3 separate regions of the Homo sapiens genome follow, and all the other regions are linked to region 3. Evidence: promoter capture Hi-C in 16 types of primary human blood cells and fetal thymus (Javierre and others, 2016). All regions are on one chromosome and are shown on one strand. The core of a region is centred on a gene start or on the middle of the fragment in contact, and the rest is flanking DNA. Distances in the headings are between cores, read along the strand shown. Region 1 has its middle 7.6 kb from the start of PF4V1. Region 2 has its middle 25 kb from the start of CXCL1. Region 3 holds the start of CXCL2 (C-X-C motif chemokine ligand 2).

Region 1 (4,172 bases), core at 374-2,873, 240 kb after region 3:
ACTGAAGGCTCCTATTTATCAATCAAGGACCATTTCAAATGTCACTTCCATTAAAATCCCATCTTTCCTTCCAAAGGGTTATCTTGGCCTTTGGATACAAATCACATTGTGGGGAGCATTGATTTACATACTCCCATACTGGATTGTGTATTCTGTAAGGAAAGCCATCATATATCTCATTCCTGTTTGCATCCACCAGACTCTAAAATTCTCTCACACCAGTGGTTTTCCTAGGGACCCATCAAAAACTATGAATATCTGGTCCTGAAAGTTCACGGGAAGCTTTGTGCCAGGACTCTGGAAAAAGAAGATGTAAACATGAAGATAAGTTTTCAAACAGGGAGTTAGAAGGAGCTAGAAGAAAAAGTCTCTAAAATGAGTCTGGTTCATGCTAAGCACTCAACAAATGTTTGCTGACATAATGCATGAGTCAATGGTTTCAGGTCACTGTTTTAAAACTAAAATATCCTTAAGTCAGGATATGTGGAAGCTTCCCTTGATGGAGTGTGGAATTTCCTTAGTTTCTTTTGCCTATTTTGACTTTTCAGGACCAGAATAAAAGATGCCAGTGGACATTTAATGAAACCAGATATGACAGTTGGGTCAGAGCCACAGTTTGAATTCTATAGTAAGAGCTAGAAAAGGGGATCCCCTACCTGGGAAAGCCAGAGTAATGAGTCTGAACCAAAGTCCTTAGAAAGCTCTGATGCCCAGGTCTGCCAATACATTTAAAGAGACAGATGGGACCTGCATCCAAAGCCAGAGGGCTTGAGCTCTCCCAGGTGTGGAACAGAAGGGGAACAATGTTAGGAATAAGGCCAGGGAGGTCCTTGTCACAGATGGAGCTGGAATATCTGTGTTTGGTTTATAGGTCATTTGCCTTAGGGCTGATAGAACAATCCAGGTCATTACAGGTTCATGATCTAGGCAGTAAGTGAGTAGATAATAGCTATTCTTCCCACACATTTTAAAATTCATCTGCGTGTAAAAGGCACAGTGATAAGTTTAGTAGAAGAGGAAAAGTTGGATAAAATATGAATTCTAATGTAAAATTCTTTGTTTAGCCTGACTACTTTCTCTTGCAATGCTATATTATTTGTTTTTCTGTTCCTGGCATGATAATCTGATGTTATGATTAGTCTACAGATACTTAAAATCATTCAGGTAACACTGAGAATCATTTGATATATTAGCTTTGCCAGATTTTTTTTTGGAGGGGTGGTTATTGTTTTTATATTTTTTTTTTTTTTTTTTTTTTTGTTTGTTTGTTTGTTTGTTTTGAGACAGAGTTTCACTCTTGTTGCCCAGGCTGGAATGCAATGGCATGATCTCGGCTACTGCAACCTCCGCCTCCCAGGTTCAAGTGATTCTCCTACCTCAGCCTCCCGAGTAGCTAGGATTACAGGCATGTACCACCACACATGGCTAATTTTTTTATATTTTTAGGAGAGACGGGATTTCTCCATAGTGGTCAGGCTGTTCTCGAACTCCCAACCTCAGGTGATCCGCCCGCCGCAGCCTCCCAAAGTTCTGGGATTATAGGCGTGAGCCACCATGCCCGGCTGGTTATTGTTTTTTAAAAAGGTTTTTATAAATCTTTTTGCATCTCTGTTTTCTTTAAGATTGTTTTCTGACCTATCTGGAAGTGGTATTCACCAAGTAATGACATCATGAGCATATATTTAAAAAAAAAAAAAAAGAATTACAGGATTGCAAAGGATAAGGAAATGAAAAGTTTCTCTTGGAAATAATTATGCAAGAAATTTGTTTTGGAGAAGAAAACGTTATTATGACTTTGTCATTCCGAAAACAAAATTTAGGAAATTGAAGGATGAACATATAAACCACAAATGAAAATAGCATACATAGCATAAAAACGCAGATTTCAGCAAAGAAAAGTTTGAATCATCATGAGAACTTATGTTAACATCTTGTCCATAGTATTTTCCAACATTCATTATCCTTCAATTTTTTGGTAAGAAATATTTGTGTTTTCCTTTTTACCTTCTTGATCAGTCCATTTACTTAGGTAATCTTTGAAACAGATTTTCCTGAACAATACTGATTTCAAAGAGGTTGCTCTACTGGTGTGTGACTGAGCTAGTTCCTTGATTGACATTTCTAGTTAATTAAGTAAGTAGTTAATTAAGGACACTAAAGAAATACAAGATCTAATTAGATATGGTGGGTATTATAGTGAAAGAGGAGGAACAAGGGCTTGGTTGTGTGTAATTTACCATCTGTATGTTGTACATTGAAGCAAACATCTATAATAAAATAATGTTTAATATGTCTATATCATAGCATCTGTGTATGATGAGAGCACGTGAATAGACAGACGAGGGGAACTCTTAACAGAGTCCCTAATAGTTACGAATGCGACTCTAATTAAAACATCAAACAAATCACTGATGAGGCAGATAGTATGGGTGTGTTATAATGTCTATGAATAACTTGATGAGATCAGTGAGCCTAACAAGATCGAGAGCTGGGAAAACGGTGTCTTTCTTTAATTTTCAACTAACTTTCTGTTGGCTGAGTAGCTTATCCTTAGCACCCAACTGCACCATTACTTCACAGCACTAACTGCAGATTTATTCTTCTCCAAGTAGTTAATATTTGACACACATTTACTTAACACCTACTCTATCAGGCATTTTTCTGAAATCCAGAATGAAGAGATGGAATAGGCTTAATCCTTATTCTCTGATTTAAAGTAGGAAAATAGATAAAGGAATAATTACAGTGAAGCTTAATAGTTATTCTGATGGAGGCGTGTGTAAATTGCTTTATTGCTTATTTCCTAACATTCCCTATAGCTATCCCTAGAATTACTGAGAAAAGAAAACTGATTCTCCAACACAGCTGATAAGTAAGAGCTGGCTGTTCCAACTCTGTTTTGACTGCTCTGTTTCAAGTTGGATTGCCTCTCACCACAAATGCTGAATAGTGACATAATCCTCATGTTGTGCCTGCTTCAGTGAAGAAGTAAATACTTGGCAAATTTAAGTCTAAAGTTTATTTTTTCTTGTTTTCTTTCCTGGAAAAATAGCTAAGCCAGCCTCCTGTATAAATATACAGTTCACTAGATGTCCTGTATATTTTATAATCTTACAGATATGCTGGCTGACAAACATTGTGGTTTTGTTATTTAATTTTCTTTTAGTTGTTATCAGGAAAATACTACTTGTGTCTGTCATGCTAAATTTTTTCTTAACTAGCTGTCTGCACCCAAGCTTTGGGTTGTGGTTCTGAGCAAGGGAAGTACTGGCTTATTGGCTGTATTCTTAAAGAGTTGGTTGCTAGCTCAGGGATTGTGGCTTCTGCTGGAAATGTTATGTTCCCTGAGAGTAGAACTCCAAGAAGAGGAAAGGAAACATTTATTTACTAGGTTTCAATTCTGAGTAAGAACCCATACTGGATCCTATTGTAAGTGTGATTTAATCCTTTTCAGTACCCTGTGTGGTGGGCTTTATTGTCCTTGTTTTGGAATAAGGGAACTGAGGAGACCCAGGGTCACACAGAGTCAAAGCTGAGATACAACCCAAACTGTCTTTCTCAAAAGCCCACTGGGCTAATGCCAGCATCTACAGGAATAATAAGGAAAAAACCCATATGGGAAGAATTTTATATAACAGCTAGTTAAGTCCACTGAGTGTGAATATGCTGCTTTTATTTGAGCCCTCCTAGAAATCGATGTGTTTTCTGTTCTTAACCCAATTTACATTTGGGACCAAGCTAGGCAGTACACGGCTGAAGCAGATGGTCAGGAAATATAAATGGTAGCCCAAGCTGAAAAGGACCTAGAGTCTCAACAATCCCGACAACATCCTATTTGGTGTGACATCTTTACCACAGAAGCTGTTTTTCATGGGTTTCCTCGAGACTCCAACCCCAGGTGAGGGATGGTGACTGAGATTAAAGGAACACTATAGACCAGGAGATTTAACTTTTCAGCTAGGCCTTAGTATCCTGCCCCTAATGGCTCTTCAAGCATTTTATCTGGAGTGTGGAATCCAATATAGACCGTCACAACTTAACTCTTTAATCAAAGAACTGGAGGAGTGTTTTTAAACTACACATCATGGTACATCAGTAGGTTATGAAATCACTTTATAGTGGTGTGGCCAACATCTTTTAAAAAATGGAATGTGGTAGGATAGAGTAGAATA
Region 2 (3,881 bases), core at 1,045-3,544, 200 kb after region 3:
ATTCCTAAAAAATAGCAATAATTAAATAAAATTGAGTTACTGAGAAAGCACATTACAATAGTTTAACCGTAATAGACTTTGCTAAGATATGTTCAGTAAAAATGGCTTTTTTTCCTGAGAATTTTACAATGTCCGTTATGGTAATGATCTGGATTTGGATGAATTTAATGATAACTAAAGGAAGATTCCACAGATTTTATTAATGTCCGTGATTCGTATTACCTTTTTCTACAGTGCTTTTTTAGGTAAGCGCATGCTGTTTGAGATACATAAGTGAACGAGTTAAGAAAGGCAGCATTTCTGCTGCAGTGGTAAAGGTAGACCTCATTTGGTAAAACACATAACCAAGGGAAGTTGTTGCCTCTTTTTTGAAGTTTCTCTGCTAGTCATTGGCAAGAGAAGTCACTCTCGAATAATCTCTTCACATTGTATGTGACCAAGCCCTGTTTTCTTCTCTTCTTTCTGGATGATATCGGTTCACCCTTCAAACCTTTCAAATATTTTTTTCCTAGGTGTGTCAAGGTGTATCATGAAAAAAAAGTGACCTTTGAGGCCACCAAACAAGTTTCCTGAGTGAGGCTGTTTGCCTGGTTGGGGGACTGATCTGGATCCATTTTCAACTCTATCTCCTCTCAGTGTTTGAGCCTGGGCAATGACTTAAGGCAGTGGTCTTCCTCACTTGTGACCTTAGGAGAAATAAGTCACCTCTGGAGGTTCATAACAGCCTGACTTCTTTTTAATTGTCCAGCCTCAGAAAGAACAAGCAATGGTCACAATTATTCTATTATTGATCTATATCTATGTGGTTCCTTCTCCAGCTTTGCTCTGGAAATGTGTCACTCATAAAACCTCATAAATGTGTAATCTGTTATTGCGCTGGGAACACACTGTGCTTGACATTGTCTGGTAGTTTTGCTCCGGCAGCAAATCCTTACCTGTATGATTCTGCAGCCATCTCAATTCTTGCCTCCTCAGAAGAAATAATTTGACGGAGGGGCATAAGGCAGAAGGAGAGACTGAGGCAAGTATTTGAGCAGGGGTGAAAGCTTATTTGAAAGCTTTAGGACAAGAGTGAAAGAAAGTAAAGTACACTTGGAAGAGGGCCAAGTGGGTGACTTGAGAGATTCAGTGTGAGGTTTGACCTTCTGACTAGCGGTTTTATACATTGGCGTACTTCCAGGGTCTTGCCTTACTTCTCCCGATTCTTCCCTTGGGATGGGCTGTCTGCATGCACAGTGGCCTGCTAGCACTTGGGAGTTGAGCATGTACAGTGTGTTTACTGGAGTTGCACACATGCTCACTTGAGGCGTTCTTCTTTTACCAGTCAAATGTTCCTGGAAGGTCATTTGCTGATTAAATTCTGCCATTTTAATGTGCATGCTTGAGCCCGCTCACCCAACTTCTGAGATCTTATTGGGAAGCTGCTGATCACTAGTTTCAGGTGTTTTCTATCTATGGGGAGACTGCCCTCCCCTGGTACTGGCTGTGACCAATTATTGTTTTAGAGACTCAGTTAACAACTGCCTGACCATCATCTGCTGGTCGCCTGGTGTTCCCGCTGTGTATGTGTGAGGGGAGCCTTCTCTTGCCCTGTTCATGTCTGACTAGCTACCTACTATAACAGTTTAACCATCTTGATTTGAAAAAAAGAAGAAAAGCTTGGTAAAATAAGTTACCTGTATTGAACAATTGTATCACTACAAATTATCATGTCTGTCTAGCACATTGTAATGGAATAAATGCCAAAAGCACTGTTAAGTCTTCTGAAGAACTCTAAAATAATATTTTTTAAGTCATTGCACATAGAGTCAGCCTTAGACTAACATTAGCCTGCTATAATATAGATTCAGTGAGCACTGAGCATTGCTCTGATTCTCATCTGCATTCTCTCTTTCTAATTGGTGATTATGACATCTCTTTATGTTAGTTACATAAACATCCTTCCATTAGGGCCAGTGATTTTTCTCTTGAAAAGATGTTGGAACAAGGTGTAGAACAAACTAGTTTGACCATCTCCTTCTGCCTTGTTCTAAATTCAACAGCTCTAAATGTGATTTCTTCTTCTTGAGGAAGTCCATGCTTTATCATGCTGTTTCTGGTCTTCTGAGATGGAACCTCTACAACTTCTTCCAGGTGAAGAGAATGATAATGCTTATCGTAGTTGTGCCTCAGAATAATGTGTCCTAGGGGTAGAAGTGGGGAGAATTTAACTGACAGCTCCCATCCCATAATATCCATCAGTGGCACAAAGGAGGTCAACTGCCTGTCACTCCTGGGTGCTCCCATGTTAGAAAAGCTCCAGGACATGAAACGAGGGCATGGAATGTAGCTAACACCACATGCTGTTTGGTTAAACTCACACAGAGCAGTTTGTTTGCTGCAGGAATTGCTGAGTAGCAGGAGGACTGAGAGGATGTGAGGCAAGCTGCAAAAAAAAAATAAAATAAAATAATTACAAGTTATATTACATAATCTAAAAGTCAGTGCAGTGTATGGGAATGATTTTCCTAGGTGAAGAAAATAAAAATAAGCATCCCAGCAGAATTTTTATGAAGAAAATGTACCGTATTTTTTTCAATATAAAATGCATACAAAGAAATAGGATAAACGTGGAGCTGGGCCGAAGTCGTTCTATCTTCAAACTTCACTTCTGGAAGTCATAGCTGCTTTTGGTCTCAGTTTGTTGGTCTTTGAGAATGTGGACAAGCAAAGTAGATTGTGGTTGCATTGGTATAATTATTTATTCTAATGTGATGGCTTTCAGGGAGTCAACACATGGTCCTTATGAGATCTTTACACCATGCCACATCCGCTCCAATAGAATATGGCTGCCTGCTCTTTGGTTTGAATTAGTGCCTGGGTTGCTTCTCTGACGGTTGATGGCAGAACAAAGGCAGCCAAACCTATCACAGGTTATAAATAAAGCTTTGCACTGCATTTTTGTTGGGAGGAGGCTAAGAGAAGCCAAAGGAGAATGAGAAGAAAGAATAGGTCCCCCTGGGCAGATAAGAAATAACACACTCAACACACTCAGAAGCAGACTGGGGTTGTGATTATGACTGTGTCAGGCAGGATGAGAAAGGGATGATTACATGATGGATTGAACTTCACAATGCCACCTTTAATGGACCATCTTATTGTAGTTTTTCCGTTCTAGTATAGAGGGCTTCCTGCTCATCAGAGCCAAGGGCGTGCATGTATGCTAGTTGTTTTTCTAGGAAGCCTACAGGTAGCATCGTTTATCCCTTCTTGAGTTATGACTTTTGATTCAATTGAGATGAAAAAGAAAGTAACTTAGATAAGATATAAAAATATCCTGCTTACTAATAATGAAGCTGGTACTAGAGCCAGTGGTTTGTTTCTGTGGACAGGTGTACTTCCTAACACTGACCCCCAGAATTAGGCAGACCTATCTATGTAGTCACAAGCTGGGTTGGAAAATCTTAGGTATGCCCTATGCGATAAGCTACTTTTATTCTTGGCAGAGAGCAGAACAGATCATTTACTTTACAGGAGGGTGAGTGGTTCTGTGAAAAAGGTAAGCAGGAGATGTTATGCAAAGTTGATTGTTTCAAACTCACCCATCTAAATAAGTCAATGTTTCCCTCAGAAGCAGAGAGACTAGATGAGTCAACTTTACAATACACCTCTTTTTCTCTGTAGGTAGATATATCATGGGTGATAGATGCAAGATTACAGGTAAAAGACTTGCTTTTCCTCAGCAGTACAATCTACAACTCAATGCACAACTGCCTGAAAATAGAGTGTTGAAGATGATAAGACACATGCTGTATTTCAGTGAGTCTAAAAGGCACATTTTATCACATTTTAAAATCTCTATAATTGTGGCATGGCTTATCACTGATGGAGAACACAGATTA
Region 3 (4,209 bases), core at 1,297-3,796:
GAAAAAGGAATTCTACTTCCCTTCCTAAAGCAAATAATTTTTAGTAAACAAATTCTAGGAATAACGTACATAATTTTACAAATGATGGGCTGATTCTTGAAATTTCTCATCTTTTTGAGGGACTGTTACTGTAGATAATAGAAATTTTACTCTTTCTATTTACTCACATCAATACTTTGGGATGAGTCTGGCAATCATTATAAGCTGATGTTTTCTATTGTTCTTTAGTTCTTTAGCACAAAATAAAGAAGTTTGGGCAGCTAGCTGTTAATGCCCAAGGCAGAGTCATTTCATAAATCTTTTCTAATAAATGGATAGGGTAGAATTTTACTCTTATTCTCATTTTATGTGGAAAGTGATTGAAACTAAAATTTCAAACAAACAATGGATCAAAAAATTATTGTAAGATCCCATAAGGATAGAAATGCACCCTCCTTTAAAATTTCTGATGCTGAAAAATTTTAAAGGTAAATTAGAAGATGTTTCTTTGAAAATATTTCTTTCTTTGTGCGTGTGTGTGTTCATAAGGCTTTATCAGAGTGCTTCTGTTTAGTTAAGTGTCTTAGTCAGTTTGAGCTGCTATAACAGAATGCCATAGGCTAGGGGGCTTAAACAACAATTATTTCACAGTTCTGGAGGCTGGGGAGTCCAAGATTAAGATCCTGGCAGATTTCATGCTTGGTGAGGGCCCTCTTCTCAGTTTGCAGATGGTGGCCTTCTTGCTGTGTCCTCACAATGCAGAAAGGGAGAGAGAGCCAGAGATCGAAAGCTCACTGATCTCTTGCTGTAATGGCACTTATCCCATCATGGGGGCCATACCTTCATAACCTCACCTAAACCTAATTACTTCCCATGGTCCTGTCTTCTAATATTAGCACATAAGGGAGTCAGGGCTTCATCATCTGAATTTGAAAGAGACACAAACATCCAGCCTATATCAGTAAGGTTGTGAAACACCACTTCTATTTTGTTATTTAACAAATATTTACATAACACTTTACATGCACTGATGGTTTACACATATTAACAATCAATACTTCTAACAACCCCGTGAGGCAGGCACTATTATAAGCTCTTCTACAGGGGAGAAACATGAGCAAATAAAGCATAAATTACCAAGGGTCATGAAGCAAGTTAGTGGTATGGCTGAAACTTCAGCCCTGACATCCTTATCAAGTGATCTCTACAGCTGCAGCATCCAGGGAACACTCTATTCCTAAGGTAGTCCCACTTCTTCATCCTCGTGCCACTCCCAGCCCTTCTCATAGCAGTGGCAGAATATCTCCATATCCCTGAAGTCTGCATCCACCAGGAAGAATTAAGACAGAGTATTGTAGGCCTACAGCTTAATTTTTAAAGAGAGGGGGTCATTGAAATTGATGATGAAAAGTCAGTAATCCAGTGAGAAGGCATCAGCTAAACAGGCTTGGAAATGCTTTATTGACATTCCTCTAGAACTAAAATTTCCTCGATAGCTGTTTCTCTAGAGGGAACCAATCCCAGGATGCTGGTAAATACATATGGCATGGAAATGCAATTATGTTAGCAATCTAGTATGTATATATCAGACATGTCTGCTTGTGCTTAGAGTAGTAAACAAGCGGAGTCTCATTCCCTGCTCCTTTTCTGGTGGTGTCTATGGCCTTTTCTGCCCAGGGACAGCACTAGAAAAGGCAGACCTCCTGAGCCCAACAGGCCCCTCGCAGCTCCCAGTGACTTCCATGGATCAAAACACAGACTTCCATACAACAAAAAATTGATGCTACTGGAATTACTAGAGTTCGAGATGTTCCAAGATTTCAAAGAGAGAAAGGATGGGGGATTGCAACACTGTTAACTAAAATAAACACTGAATTGACCCTTGGCAATGGTCTGTTCCCGCACCCAACACCTGGCTCCACTACGTTGAAACACACACACACACACACACACACACACACACACACACACACACACGTGATATTTGCTTTTAAGATCATAAAACACCAGGAAGGAGACAAAAGCTCTTATGCGTCATCTGAGATGACACATGTACTGTTAAAGCGTGCGTTTATTTCAAACATTAATGAAATTTGCAGAACCCAAACTAAAGAGAGAGGATAGATAAGACATGCTGCAGTTCTTGCCCTAACTTTCAATCCCAACAACTGAAATGTCTTCCAGAGAAGTAACTCCCCCCGGTAAGGATGTAGCGCGGTCCCTACGTGGGTCTAAGGGATCTGACCCACGACGCACTGCACTGGGTTCACGAAGCGCCTCCTCGCAGGCGGTTATCTCGGTATCTCTGAGAGCGGCGGGCTCTCGCTCCCGCTCCAGGGATTCGGGGCAGAAAGAGAACATCCCACAGTTGGCGGGAGTTACGCAAGACAGTCAGACCCGGACGTCACTCGTGAGTGCCCCGACCCCCCTCCACCCCAGAGGCGGGGCCATCGCCTTCCTTCCGAACTCGGGATCGATCTGGAGCTCCGGGAATTTCCCTGGCCCGGGACTCCGGGCTTTCCAGCCCCAACCATGCATAAAAGGGGTTCGCCGTTCTCGGAGAGCCACAGAGCCCGGGCCACAGGCAGCTCCTTGCCAGCTCTCCTCCTCGCACAGCCGCTCGAACCGCCTGCTGAGCCCCATGGCCCGCGCCACGCTCTCCGCCGCCCCCAGCAATCCCCGGCTCCTGCGGGTGGCGCTGCTGCTCCTGCTCCTGGTGGCCGCCAGCCGGCGCGCAGCAGGTGGGTCCCGGCGCCCTGGGGTCCCCGGGCCGGACGCGGCTGGGGTGGGCGCCCCGCGCCGACAGCCCCGCTCAATCAGCGAGTCTCTTCTTCCCTAGGAGCGCCCCTGGCCACTGAACTGCGCTGCCAGTGCTTGCAGACCCTGCAGGGAATTCACCTCAAGAACATCCAAAGTGTGAAGGTGAAGTCCCCCGGACCCCACTGCGCCCAAACCGAAGTCATGTAAGTCTCGCCCATCGCTGCCGCTGCCACTGCTGGGGTCCCCGACTCTCCCGCTGCCCCAAACCCTGTCCTCAGCCCGACCTCCTGTCTCACGAGATTCCCTTCTCTCTGCAGAGCCACACTCAAGAATGGGCAGAAAGCTTGTCTCAACCCCGCATCGCCCATGGTTAAGAAAATCATCGAAAAGATGCTGAAAAAGTAAGTTATAATTTCCATGTACACAGGCGACTGGAGCTGTTGGTCAGAAATACTGGCGTCTGCCCCCTAAAAAGTAAATCAGGAAAACCCAGGGTTAGCTGCAGGACTGAAAAAATTATTATTTTCACAAAGTTGCCATTAAGGTTATTAATCTGTTCTGGTGCCAGAGGATATTCCCAGTGCCCAGGGTCACCACCCAGGTTCTTCCCTCCTGCCAGTGAATGTAGGTAAAACTGCTTTCATGTAAGGTCTCATTGGAGTTTGCCAGTTGTGCTGAAGTGTTTTCCACCTGTTAAAAAACACAAGCTTCATTTCCCCTAGTTCCTACTGACTTTCAGACCTGAAAAGCAGACCCCCTGGTTTTTTGTAAAAGTTTAGGGTTGAAGTGCAGAGATTTCACAATAATATTGCACTGGGTATATAACTGGTTGCCACCACCTATTAGCCATGTCACTCAGAGACAATATTATTTAGTTTATCTGAGACTCAGCAAAACAGGGAAAATAATGGTAGCTACATCATGAGGTTGCTTTGAGGCTCAAGTGAGGCCCAGTATGACAAAGAGCAATAGGCTCTGGCTGTTTTAGCCAGTAAAACAGTGTAGACTGCCACTCCTCCACCCCACGTCACCCCCATTCCTAAAAGAGCATCCCAAGCCTAGAGGTCCTTGCCACACAGCACAGCTGTCACAGGCAGTACCCACTTGGGTGCCAGGCTGGGGAAACTGCATTCAGAAAACTCTAGAGCCTGGGGAAACAGGACAGGAGAAGACTGTTGTGCAGTCAGCTTTCCTGAGCACCTACTCAGGGCACCCATTTTCTCATTACAGTGGCAAATCCAACTGACCAGAAGGAAGGAGGAAGCTTATTGGTGGCTGTTCCTGAAGGAGGCCCTGCCCTTACAGGAACAGAAGAGGAAAGAGAGACACAGCTGCAGAGGCCACCTGGATTGCGCCTAATGTGTTTGAGCATCACTTAGGAGAAGTCTTCTATTTATTTATTTATTTATTTATTTGTTTGTTTTAGAAGATTCTATGTTAATATTTTATGTGTAAAATAAGGTTATGATT

Evidence for each region. The method cuts DNA at HindIII sites, captures the fragments that hold promoters and counts their contacts. A CHiCAGO score of 5 or more calls a contact.
Region 1: a fragment that was not itself captured here is called in contact with the fragment with the promoter of CXCL2 in region 3 in 2 of 17 cell types (M1 macrophages and megakaryocytes); the score reaches 6.9 in M1 macrophages.
Region 2: a fragment that was not itself captured here is called in contact with the fragment with the promoter of CXCL2 in region 3 in 1 of 17 cell types (monocytes); the score reaches 5.0 in monocytes.

What each region holds. Positions count from the first base shown.
Region 1 is chr4:73,858,775-73,862,946 of GRCh38, reverse strand. No RefSeq gene overlaps it. Among named protein-coding and RNA genes, the nearest start is that of PF4V1, 7.6 kb to the right of the region's middle. The HindIII fragment of the contact is 2,261 bases long and covers 493-2,753 here.
Region 2 is chr4:73,892,656-73,896,536 of GRCh38, reverse strand. No RefSeq gene overlaps it. Among named protein-coding and RNA genes, the nearest start is that of CXCL1, 25 kb to the right of the region's middle. The HindIII fragment of the contact is 1,267 bases long and covers 1,661-2,927 here.
Region 3 is chr4:74,097,532-74,101,740 of GRCh38, reverse strand. CXCL2 (C-X-C motif chemokine ligand 2) reads left to right here and starts at 2,546. Exons shown (of 4, transcript NM_002089.4): 1 at 2,546-2,720; 2 at 2,819-2,942; 3 at 3,057-3,140; 4 at 3,970-4,209. The coding sequence starts at 2,621. The coding sequence ends at 3,985. The HindIII fragment of the contact is 3,135 bases long and covers 1-3,084 here.